Linked DNA regions of Homo sapiens: region 2 is linked to region 1. Evidence: promoter capture Hi-C in 16 types of primary human blood cells and fetal thymus (Javierre and others, 2016). All regions are on one chromosome and are shown on one strand. Each heading gives the region's core, a stretch centred on a gene start or on the middle of the fragment in contact. The rest is flanking DNA. Distances are from core to core; before and after follow the strand shown. Region 1 holds the start of PITPNM1 (phosphatidylinositol transfer protein membrane associated 1). Region 2 holds the start of POLD4 (DNA polymerase delta 4, accessory subunit).

What was found. The method cuts DNA at HindIII sites, captures the fragments that hold promoters and counts their contacts. A CHiCAGO score of 5 or more calls a contact.
Region 2: the fragment with the promoter of POLD4 here is called in contact with the fragment with the promoter of PITPNM1 in region 1 in 9 of 17 cell types (total B cells, naive CD8 T cells, activated CD4 T cells and 6 more); the score reaches 7.0 in total B cells.

What each region holds. Positions count from the first base shown.
Region 1 is chr11:67,500,997-67,506,614 of GRCh38, reverse strand. PITPNM1 (phosphatidylinositol transfer protein membrane associated 1) reads left to right here and starts at 1,252. Exons shown (of 24, transcript NM_004910.3): 1 at 1,252-1,427; 2 at 2,394-2,512; 3 at 3,897-4,111; 4 at 4,202-4,323; 5 at 4,529-4,753. The coding sequence starts at 2,435. It overlaps CDK2AP2 (cyclin dependent kinase 2 associated protein 2), which reads left to right. Exons shown (of 4, transcript NM_005851.5): 4 at 1-118. RefSeq lists silencers at 956-1,585, 1,796-1,955, 1,966-2,085, 2,166-2,265 and enhancers at 2,044-2,793, 2,794-3,543. The HindIII fragment of the contact is 23,305 bases long and covers 1-5,618 here.
Region 2 is chr11:67,350,508-67,356,669 of GRCh38, reverse strand. POLD4 (DNA polymerase delta 4, accessory subunit) reads left to right here and starts at 3,124. Exons shown (of 4, transcript NM_021173.5): 1 at 3,124-3,367; 2 at 3,593-3,682; 3 at 3,868-3,979; 4 at 4,651-5,898. The coding sequence starts at 3,271. The coding sequence ends at 4,675. All of the region lies in intron 2 of LOC100130987 (a long non-coding RNA gene), which reads right to left. RefSeq lists a silencer at 2,807-3,056 and enhancers at 3,237-3,286, 3,280-3,861, 3,862-4,444. The HindIII fragment of the contact is 23,887 bases long and covers 1-6,162 here.

The sequences.
Region 1 (5,618 bases), core at 3-2,502:
ACAGGCCTGGCACCTCCCTGCCTTGTGTCCTGAGCCATAGTGACTCTTTTATCTGTGTGTCTTTTGCTAAATATGCCCTTTTTATATTAATAAAAGATGATTTGGAGTTGTGCTCTCAGCTCTGAGCCTTTCTGGGTCTGGTTCTTCAGCTAAGCCTGGGTGGGCCAGGCAGAGACAGGGGAAGAGGAGACTATGGATGGGGAGGGTGTGATTAAATGAGGTTTGACTTGCCTCTGTAGGCCATCAGCCTTTGGTGGGACCTGGGCCCTCTCCGCCCCAGCCGTGGCGCTGAGAGCCCTGGGCCTTCCTGTGGTGCCACCAGGGGGCAGCACAGGGCCTGGCTGCTTCCACAGCCCTTGGCGCTGTGGGCAGCCTGGGCCTGGAGGGCGCTTCCTCTGGATTGGCGGTGATGCCTGGCAGCATGGAAATGCCAGTTCACGTAAGCCACTCCCTCACACGCCCTAATGCCCTGACAACACCCCAGCCTCTGAATCAGCCCTGAAGGTCTCTGACTTCTCAGAGAGAAAGGGCACTGCTGCTTCCAGCACTTGGCCTCAGTGTCAAGGGGAGGGGCTGGCGGGGTGCTGCCGTCACTGCCCCAGCACCTTGTAGCAGGCTGGGTGGGATCCCATGAACCCAGCCTTGGGGTGCCTCGTGAGGCCTTTGCCCAGACTCCGGGTGGCTGGGTGACCGGACTTGTGGACCCGGAAGGCAGAGGTGGGGGAGGCTTTGTGGCACCATGCAGGGGCTAGCCCAGCCACTCACAGTGACAGCCCGTTTCTGCCTGGGCGTGTAGCTGGGTGACCATAGAGGCCTGGGGCCCTGGAGCCGAGCCCAGCCCTAGGTGGAGGCATGTCAGAGCCACCAGCTTCTGGCTAGACTGGTGGGGAGGCATTTCCTCAACCCTGGGTCCCAAATCTAAGGACTGCAGAGAGTGAGAAGAGGAGAGTGGGCCTGGGACCCCCCATATCAAACCACCCTGTGACTGCACACAGGAGGGCTGGGCTAGGGTGGAGATAGGAACTAAGAGTCTTTGGGGACCCCAATCAGCACAGAGGGACTAGGAAGAGCCAGAATTTAGGCAATGGCCTTTTTCCCACTGCCCGGGGGAAGGAAGGCAGGGGCCTCCCTCCCTGCCTCCTCCGCTGCAGGCGGGGCTGCCCGGACCCCGCCGGGGTGGGGAGGGCCAGCCGGGCCCAGGAAGGGGGCGGGGCGGCCGCAGTGACGCGGCGGGCGTCGGGGAGGGACTGCAGGGGCGCCGGCGGGCGGATCGAGAGGAAGGTCGGGGCCATGGGCCGGCACTGCGCCTCGGGAGGGTCCGGCCACCGCTGGAACCCGAGGCCGGGGCTGGGGGCGCTCCGGGCTCCGACCCACGGGCCGGCCGGCCCTGCCCGGGCTGGGTGAGGGGCGCCCGCCTCAAGCTAGAGGTGAGCCGGGGCGTCGGCAGGCGGGCCAAGAGCGCGGCAGGGGACCGGGACGCCGGCGAGCAGAGGGAAGTGGGGACAACGGGGCCTCTCGCTTGCTCGCGGGGTGCGAGTGGGGGATGGAGGGGTGCCTGCAGCGGAACCTCGGTGCCAGTCTGGGGCGCAGGTGGACGGAGCGGGTCTCCAGGGCCATGGCCCGTGGGATACCAAGTGGAGCCACTCTGGCCTCAGCCTGAGGAGGGCTCACCCCCTGGGAAGAGGACGGAGTGGCTGCCTAGGCGCGTGGAGAGCCGGCGAGGGCCAGGGGTCCAGGAAGGATGCTGGGAGGGGGAGGTCGAGGACCCGGCTGCCCAAGAAGGCAGATCTGGAGGGCGGAGGAGATTACCGGTCCCGGAAGGTAGGTTCGGGTGCAGGGCGTGGGGAACCCTGGCAGAGATGCTGGGCGCACTGGGCCACTCCGCGCAGAGACACTCGGGGAACAAAGCTCTAGGTGGACGTCCGAGAGTGGGGGACTTGGGACCCCGCCGACTCCGGGAAGGGGATGCAAGGGGCGGGTCCCCGAGGGGCCGGTCGCGGAAGGCGGGCCCGGAAGGAGGGGCCCCGGGGCTTCGGGGGCGCGCCCAGAGGGATGCCGTTTCCCGGGGTTAGGACGCGGTCGCAGCGGGAGAGGTGAGGTGGCCCTCCCGCCCGCCGGCCGGAGCCTGGCGCTCCGGGGGGCCCGCGTCAGCGCGCGGTTGCCATGGCGACGGGCGGGCGGGGGGCGGGGGCTGCGCGGAAAAGAGGTCAGCGCTCAGCCTCGCTGCGGCTCCCGGCCCCGGCGGCGCGGGCGGCGGTGCTAGGCTCGCCTCTGCCTCCCTCGTGGCGGGCCCGGACATGGGGTCCCGTGGCCTGAGTCCCTCGGCCGGCGCGCAGGGCTCGGGGCCGCGCGCAGCCTCCCCGCACTGACTGTCGCGCCGTGCCCTGCGCCAGGAGGAGCGGAGGCCGCGCGCGGCCCGCCGAGCGCCTTCAGGATGCTCATCAAGGAATACCACATTCTGCTGCCCATGAGCCTGGACGAGTACCAGGTGGCCCAGCTCTACATGATCCAGGTGAGGGCGGCGGGGAGAGGGCACCCGGGCAAGGGGTGGAGCCCTGCCGACCCCGCCAGCCCTGCCCCGGGGCTGGGACCGGCTGGGAGCCCGGAGGAGGCAAGAGAGGCCCCCCTTCAGATGTGGGAATGGGGAAGGACTGTGGGAAGAGGGGCAGGAGGGCCGAGTGGTGCTTCCCATCCGCTAAGTGCCCAGCCCTCCTCTGATCTCCTGTAATCCTCCTCAGGATCTGTAATCCCATCGGGGAAGGAAAAAGCGCCCAGGAGGCGGCAAGAATGAGGAGGGGGGCCTCCGCGGCAGAGGAAGGCGGGAGGGGGTCTGGAGAAGTGGAGGGTCCTGGCCATCCCTGGAGGTCAGGGAGATGTGGTGAGGACCAGGTGTCAAACCTGGAGCAGGGACAGGGCAGCAAGGATGGGAGGGCGAGGAGGCTCTGGTGTAGGGCAGTGAGAAGAGTGGGCCAGGGCAGGCCCTCAGCAGTGGCCGGGTTGGTGCGGGGCCTGGGGGAGTCTGCTCCAGATCTGTCCCCAGCACAGCAGGACCAGAATCTCATAAAGCAAGAGGGCCCGGACCCCGCCTCGGGCTTGAAAGGGCCATCTGAGCCCCGGAGCAATAGAAGGCAGGATCTGGGGGCTCTCAAGCTCTGAGGGGTGTGGCGGAGCTGGGATTGGGAGGCGGCCAGGGCCTCCCAGAGAGGGAGGGGGCCAGGGTCAGGGCCTCTGAGAGCTGGAGGCCCCTTTTCCTCTCCTAGTCCCTTCTTCCTTGCCAGCCACCCCGGCCTCCTTGCCACCTGCCAGCACATCCAGTATGCTCCCACCTTGGGGCTGCACTGGCTTCCCCCGGCCTTGAGCACCTCCTCCTACCTCACCTCCTTAAAGTCATGTTCAAGCCATGGTCACATTGTGTTATTAGCAAGGCCTTCCCTGACTATCAGATCAAAACTGCAGCCCCCAACCCTCATCACCTATACCCTACTCTAGGCTTTCTTTTCCTATAGCACCTAGCGCCTTCTAACACACCACATAATTTGCTTTTTCCTTTTGTCTGTCTCCTTCCACTAGAATGTAAGTTCCACGAGGGCAGGGATCTTTGTTCTATTCATCAATATATCTCAATTGATATAATCCCAAACACTGCCTGGAGTGGAGCAGACACTCAATGAATACTTGAATGACTCAACTGAGTGCTGGGTTGCAGACCCCATGCGGGGCTGGGCTGCATCTGTGATTCTGATCCCAGGGAGCTTTGGTGGGGCGGGGTCTGGTTTCAGGGAGTTGAAAAGGCTGGGACCAGGGCCCCAGAGCTGTGTAGAACACCAGGCTGAGCTGGGGATCCCAGATGCTAAGCTGGGGCTGAGCTCCCTGTCCTGCTCTCCCTTGGGCCACAGAAAAAGAGCCGGGAGGAGTCTAGTGGTGAGGGCAGCGGCGTGGAGATCCTGGCCAACCGGCCCTACACGGATGGGCCCGGGGGCAGCGGGCAATACACACACAAGGTGTACCACGTGGGCTCCCACATCCCAGGCTGGTTCCGGGCACTGCTGCCCAAGGCTGCCCTGCAGGTAGAAGAGGAATCCTGGAATGCCTACCCCTACACCCGAACCCGGTGAGTGGGTGAGCTGGGCATGGTCCGAGGCCAGGAGGGGAGCGGCCCTGGTGGGTACAGCAGTGAGCCTCACCCGTGCCTTCTGCCCAGGTACACCTGCCCTTTCGTGGAGAAATTCTCCATTGAAATTGAGACCTATTACCTGCCTGATGGGGGGCAGCAGCCAAACGTCTTCAACCTGAGCGGGGCCGAGAGGAGACAGCGCATCCTGGGTGAGGCCTGGAGCTATGGGGGGACCCTGGCGCCCCTCTCAGGCTCCTGGCTGCCTCAGTGGGCAGCCTCTGAGAAGTCCCAGCCCTCTCCAGGCCTCATGTCCTGTCTGCAAAAGGACGGGAACTGTCATCCAGTCCCAAGAGGGTGCCAGGAGCGGGGGCTCAAAGGGGCTGGCGCTGCTCAATGCTTGCCGAACTCCCTCAGACACCATCGACATCGTGCGGGATGCAGTGGCCCCAGGCGAGTACAAAGCAGAAGAGGACCCCCGGCTTTATCACTCGGTCAAGACGGGCCGAGGGCCACTGTCTGATGACTGGGCACGGACGGCGGCACAGACGGGGCCCCTTATGTGTGCCTATAAGCTGTGCAAGGTTGAGTTCCGCTACTGGGGCATGCAAGCCAAGATCGAGCAGTTCATCCATGATGTAGGTGAGCACCCAGCTGCGGGAGGTCCCACTTACCCAGCATGCCCCAGACCCCATGTTTAGGGCCAGGGATGCTCCCATCCACTGGGGACACAGAAGCAGAAAGCCATCGTTTCCATTTGAGGTGGGGAGCACTAGGGCAGAAGCGGCCGCACAGCCTAGCCAGGCATCCACAGAGCAGGAAGCTGGTAACATGATCTACAAGGTCCATACTGGCTCTGACATTCAGAAATGCTGCTGCTTCCATTAAGATTCTAAGATTCTCCATCATCCTATGAGTTAGATGAGACTTAGAGACACTCAGGAAGGTCACCGGCTCTAACTGGCAGCATGCTAAGGAGTGCAGGCTGAGGCTGTGACTCTGATGTCATTCTCTCTGGGATTCCCCACCTCCACTCCCAGTTTCTAGTGTTCCAGCCTTTGGCCCTGGTGTTCAGGAGCCCCAGTCCCACACCTCCCCTCAACCTGACCCCACCACGCCTACAATTCAGCCCTGCCTCAGTGCCCAGGTCATCTGCACACAGAGGGATGGTCCCTAGTTGGAGAGACCAGCGGCCTGGCTTCTGTCCCACTACTGACCCCCACCCCATGGTACCTCCAGCAAGGCACTGGCCATCTCTGCACTTTAAATTTCTCTTCAGTAAATGAGGAAGAGGTTGAGTCAGATATGAAGAGCTAATACTGACAGTGATTGCGACACACAGACCCATGGCTAATTACTTTTTGTGCAAGATCTCCCTTAACACCCACAACACCCCACCAGGTAATGACGATGATTATTCCCATTTTACAGGTGAGGAAATTCAGCTTAGAGAATAATGAGGACGCCTTGTCTTGCATTTGGAAAAATGCCAAAAAGCACAAATAAG
Region 2 (6,162 bases), core at 1,875-4,374, 150 kb after region 1:
CCTGAGTGGGACTGACTTTCAGCTCAGGGTGGGTGGCAGGGCCCAAGGGCCTGAGGAAGGGGGGTACTGGCGAGAGGGAAGAAGAGCTGGATCCACCCCACAGCCCACTGGGTCCCAGGCAGCTGCTCCCCTCTCTCCACCTGCCTCCAGCTTCCCAGCTCTACCTGGCTCTCCCCACAAACCTCATGGTGAGGTGGGGGAAGGGAATGCAGGTGCAGTGCTGAGGCCCCCATTCTACCACATTGTCTGAGCTAAGCCAGACCTAATCCTTCCCTTGAGTGCAGTCAGCGGTGGGCCTCAGCCCCTGGGAAGGTGCCGGGTTCCTGTTTCAGTTCTTTTCTCTCCTGGACCCCCAGGACTCTGGGCTTGGCCCTGAAGCAAGGGTCTTGGGTATTGTTACCAGGCTGAGGTGCAAAGGTCACTCCTACTAGTCTCATCACCAGCCTCTGGGTGTCGGGGCTGACACAAGGGTCTCAGGACATTCCCCCAGGGAGAGAGAACTCAGCACCCAACCCAGAACTCTGGCCTGGCCATCCAGTCTGAAGCCTGAACAGGCTCCAAGACAGCAGTTTAGGGAATGAGGCCAGGATGCTGCCTGAGTAGGTGAAGGGGTTCTAGGCAAGAAGGTACAGAAGGTGGATGGGGTTGGACAGCAAAGAAGGAAAAGACCTGAGGACAGGAAGGTCAAGGTCCAGCCTAGTCCTCAGCGCACCTTAGGGATTCAGGTGCTGAGTCAGGGCATGCCAGTTGGACAGGGATGGTTCCAAAATCCCTGGGTGCCAACTCTTTCCTAGGGGCTCCACCCTACTGCCATCTAAGAGAGAGCAGCAATGCTGCCTGCAGAGAGTTCCCTCAACTCCAAGGCAGAAAGCCAGGCCTAGGGTGCCTGCACTTGAGCTGACCACTCTGAATCTTTTTCTTGGGTGTGGGGGTAGCTGAAGCCTGAGGGAGACATCTTCCAGCCTGGGTTGGGGCCTGTGCCAGGCAAAGCTGGGGAAGCTGGCAGGGACAGCCCAGCCAACATCTACAGAGCAGCTCAGGATGCCAGAGGCTGCCCAAGGAGAAAAGGCAATAGGCCCAGGCGGTGGTAGGAGCTACTGTGGCTGCCCAGCGGCACACCCCATTTCACGCTCCCTGGGCGGTGGCAGGGCCCCACGGCTATCAGCTTTCAGGGGTGGGAGGGACTGGGAATGAGGAGGGGTCTGCCCCACCCATGGCTCCCTACTCCCTCAGGGCTTGGTGGACTCAGGAGGTGGGTGCCACACACCTCTGGAAACAGCCCAGGAACCCTTGCCAAGACCCTCTGGGGAGGGGTAGTCAATCCCCCAGAGCCTAGACGCCATCCCTACCTAGCATGCTCAGCACCTGACTGGACTCAGCACCTAGGCCCTTCCCAGCCCTGGTAGACAGGGCCTCCCTGCTTCCATCACTAACTCCGCAGGGACACTGTCTCCCTGAATGTGGGCCCCACTTAGTCCGCAAGGCAGATGGGGGGATTAGACTAGGCCCAGCCCAAACAATACAGCAGAAAGGGCCCTCCAGCTCCATGCAGTGCCCCCACAAGCTCCCTCCTCTAGGACGCCGATGGGGAGAGCCAGGCAGGACGTGGACCCTGAAGACATGGCCTGCTCCTCTGCCTCCCCTCTGGTGGTCTCCTTTCCAGAGCAGCTTCCTCCCTTGTGCCCACGTGTACCAGTGGCTTAGCCCTCTTCCAGTGCAGAACACCCAGACCCCAGAGCAGGGAAAGGAGGAGGCAGAGGCCTCTGAGCAGGCAGCAGCCCAGGAGTCTGTGCCCCACCCTCCCAGTATCCCTGGAAGGAAGAACCGGATGGGATCTCTGGAGGGTGATTAGAGCTGGGCTGGTCCCTGTGCTGGTTCCCAGACTCCCACTGGCCAGTACTTTTGCCTCCTGCCAGGAAGTTGGTGAGGGGGAGGCAGCAGTATGGGTGAGTCAGTGATGACAGGAGCCCAAGGGACAAAGGTCATGGGTGGAGAATTGAGAGACATTGTTTACAGCAGTCCACCTCCTCCAGGAGGCCTTCCAATGCTAATCATCCCTGTGGTCCTAACCAATCTCTGACCCACCCTTTCCCTCTTCTGGTAGGAATTATAGCCTCTCACTGACAACTGTGCATCTGTCTGCCTTGTGACAGTGAGCTCCTGGGGTGCAAGAGAGACTGTGGTTTGATTGGGGCCCTACAATGCCTGTGACTATCAGCAGTGATAATCATTTAGCTATACTTCCTACTTTCAAAAACTTTTTGACATCTATTTTAATTAACATGTGGGAAAGTGCTTAGAACAGTACTTGGCACATGGTACGTGCAATGAGTGTTAGGTTTATTATTAATATTTTCTGCTCAGACTCACATTATTGTGAGAGACAGGGCAGATTTTGCCAGTGAAGAACTAGGGATCCAAACACATTGTGGTGGGGGGACCAGACCCTTGCTCTGCCTTCCTACTCAGTATGGAATCTTCCTGACTGGTGGGGCGGGCCGGACACGACTTGGGACCCCAGGAGAGTCAAAACGGCAAACACTTACTCGGACTAAGAGTGGGCAGCATCTTTGGGCACAGACTGTGAGAAAGGAGGTTTCAGAACCCATGGGCTTCTCCAGCCAGGTCTCCTGGGGCCAGTGGGGGTTGGGTGGGAGCCGGGAAGGGGCCTGGATTAGCCCAAACTCTCTTCAGACCTCCAGACCTGCCCCCACAAGGCGGGGCGGGCCAAAGGACCGAGTGAAGGCTCCAGCTGGACTCTAGGGAGTTACAAACTGGCCACGGGGATTAGCGAAGCTGAAAAGAACATTTGCCTAGGAAGGGAAAACGGGAAGTGAGAGGCTGAAGATAACTCTCCTGAAGTCTCTCGGGACCCACAGCAGACCAATGGGGGCCGGGGAAGGTGGTGAAGTCGGGGCATCCCGACAGGTCCCCCGCCCCAGCCTGCCCCTCCTCCCGCGGCCCACAGCTGAGGCACCGCCCCGCCCCTCACCCTACACTGCCTACCATTGGCTAGCGCCAGGGCCCCGCCCCGCATAGGCGGCCTGCCATTGGCTGAAGTCTTTCCTGTTTGCGTGCTTTTGGGGGTGGGGGAGGCGTCCCTCCCTGGACCCCGGCGACTTCCTCTCTCGGTTTGTCTGGGTCATCTTGTCTGCCCGCCGCTGGCCTGGCCCCGTCTGTCTCTCTCAGCAGCTGTCTTTCTCGCGCCCACTGGCCGGTCTCTCCTCTTCCCCGCAGTTGCCTCCTTCTCTGCCTGCCTGGGTGGCCGCCATGGGCCGGAAGCGGCTCATCACTGATTCCTACCCGGTTGTGAAGAGGAGGGAGGGGCCCGCTGGGCACAGCAAGGGGGAGCTGGCACCCGAGCTAGGTCTCTGAGGTGTGAGGGAGGCAGGAGGAGTGGACACGGAGGGGCCTAGAGGAGGCCCCTAGAGGGGCGGAGGGGCCGATGGAAAGGGAAAGGTGGCCTGTCCTCCCCTCCCGACACCAGGTCTAGCTGCGGGGTGGCAGAGGCAAAGCGGTGGTGAGGAAGGCTGGGAGGTGAGGGGCAGGAGACTGAAGCCAACCTCGTACTGAAGAGCAGCTGTCATTGCAGGGGAGGAGCCCCAGCCCCGCGACGAGGAGGAAGCGGAGCTGGAGCTGCTGAGGCAGTTTGACCTGGCCTGGCAGTACGGGCCCTGCACCGGTGAGAACCCACCCAGCCCCACGGAGGCGCCTCTCCCAGCCAGTCACCCACACGTCTCTGAAGTCACCCAAGCGCTTGCGTGACTCTGACCCTCAGGAACTGTCTCCCCCCAACACACACATTCTCCAGCTCAGACTCTACCCCACCCCCCACAAGTCTCCAGAGTCTTCTTCCCACCCTGGCAGGGATCACACGGCTGCAGCGCTGGTGTCGGGCCAAGCAGATGGGCTTGGAGCCTCCCCCAGAGGTGTGGCAGGTGCTGAAGACCCACCCCGGAGACCCCCGCTTCCAGTGCAGGTCAGAGACAGGCCGGGAGGGCTTTCAGGGGAGCCAGGGCCTTCTCCAGGCACTGTCACCCTGCTGTCCTGACCTGAGGGAGAAATGGATGGAGGGTTGGAAGGCCTTGCTGAACAGGCAAGAAGATTCTATGAGGTGCCTGGCTCAGGAGGACACGCCACTATAATAATTCTTTTTTTTTGAGACAGAGTCTTGCTCTGTTGCCCAGGCTGGAGTGCAGTGGCGCGATCTCGGCTCACTGCAAACTCCGCCTCTCGGGTTCACGCCATTCTCCTGTCTCAGCCTCCCAAGTAGCTGGGACTACAGGCGCCCGCCAACACGCCCGGCTAATTTTTTCTATTTTTAGTAGAGACAGGGTTTCACCGTGTTAGCCAGGATGGTCTTGATCTCCTGACCTCGTGATCCCACCCACCTCAGCCTCCCAAAGTGCTGGGATTACAGGCGTGAGCCACCACACCCGGCCAATAATTCTTACCTCTACAAGCTAGTGGGGGGCAAAGGTACACCCAGGACCCAAGGAACTATCTATTTAGAACTGAGGGGTTTCCCAAGGACTATGGGCATGGCCAAGAATAAGCTGGTGAAATCAGATCCAGGGACTCAACAACTGATTCTCTGTTTCTCTCTCTCTCTCTCTGGGGTATCCCTCCCTCCCACCCCATCTTCCACAGTCTCTGGCATCTCTATCCCCTATGAGGCACCACGTAAGACCTCCTGCCCTTAGCTCTCTTGCTCACCACCCAAGAACCTCAGGACAGAAGCGAGAGCCCATTGCTCCTGCTCAGCTCAGCCCGGCTGCGGAGGAACCCTTGGCAGGCAGAACCTGGAGGTGTCAGAGGCTCAACTCCTCCATCTAACCAGCAGGCTCCCAGAGTCCCCGGAAGAGCCTGCGCAGCTGAAGCAGAGTGCTTCTAGATGGAGAGTGGTCACTGGGGAAAAGGACCTGGCCATCACCTTCCAATACCTGCTGCCTGTCTCCCTGACCCATGATCTGGCAAGTTAGGCACAGTCAGACATGGACAGTTGATCCATGAGGAAAAGATGCTCTCCCACCTAAGGCCAGGAATCTGAGAGCAGGACTGGCTGAGCTCCCAGGGCAAGGGGTTCACTAATGCTTATCAATAAAGAATATTGAGCCTGGAATCCTGACCTTCAGTCCTTTACTGTGGCCCTGCTTTGACTGGCAGTCCCTAGCAAGTTAGGAGATGAGAGAGGCACCACTACAGCTCTTTTCCTTCAAGAAAGTCCTAGGCCGAAGAGGGAGGAGACAGTCATCTTGAGACGGATCAAGTCCTCGGAAGAGCTGAGCGACCTCTGGTGCCCCCTGGTGGCCCACAGGGAAACTACTCATGACTCACCTTCTGGAGCAGCCAGGGAAAACCTACCTGACTAGCCAGCCACCTGCCTTGCTAAGCGGTGCCCACCTCACAAACATGGGTGCTTTGCCAGAGAAGGACCCCTGGGGTCCATAGCTCATGAAGTCCAAACATATCTATACATTCCCAGCAAGCACCTCTGGCTTCCCACATCGGGGGCCACCTTGATCCAAAGCAGGGCTGGCGAGGGTCTCAACTTGCAGGACCTGCTCAGACATGACCATCATCTGAGGGGCTTTGGTAAGAAACTGATGGCTGGGCGCGGTGGCTCACACCTGTAATCCCAGCACTTTGGGAGGCCAAGGAGGGCGGATCACGAGGTCAAGAGATCGAGACCATCCTGGCTAACATGGTGAAACCCCATCTCTACTAAAAATACAAAAAATTAGCCAGGTGTAGTCCCAGCTACTCAGGAGGCTGAGGCAGGAGAATGGCGTGAACCCGGGAGGCAGAGCTGGCAGTGAGCTGAGACCGCATCACTGCACTCCAGCCTGGGTGACAGAGAGAGACCCCGTCTCAAAAAATAAAAAAATACAAAATAAAGGCTGGGCGCAGTGGCTCACGCCCGTAATCCCAGCACTTTGGGAGGCCGAGGGAGGTGGATCAGGAGGTCAGGAGATCGAGACCATCCTGGCTAACATAGTGAAACCCCGTCTCTACTAAAAATACAAAAAAACTTAGCCAGGCCTGGTGGCGGGCACCTGTAGTCCCAGCTACTTGGGAGGCTGAGGCAGGAGAATGGCGTGAACCCGGGAGGCGGAGCTTGCAGTGAGCCGAGATCGCGCCACTGCACTCCAGCCTGGGCGA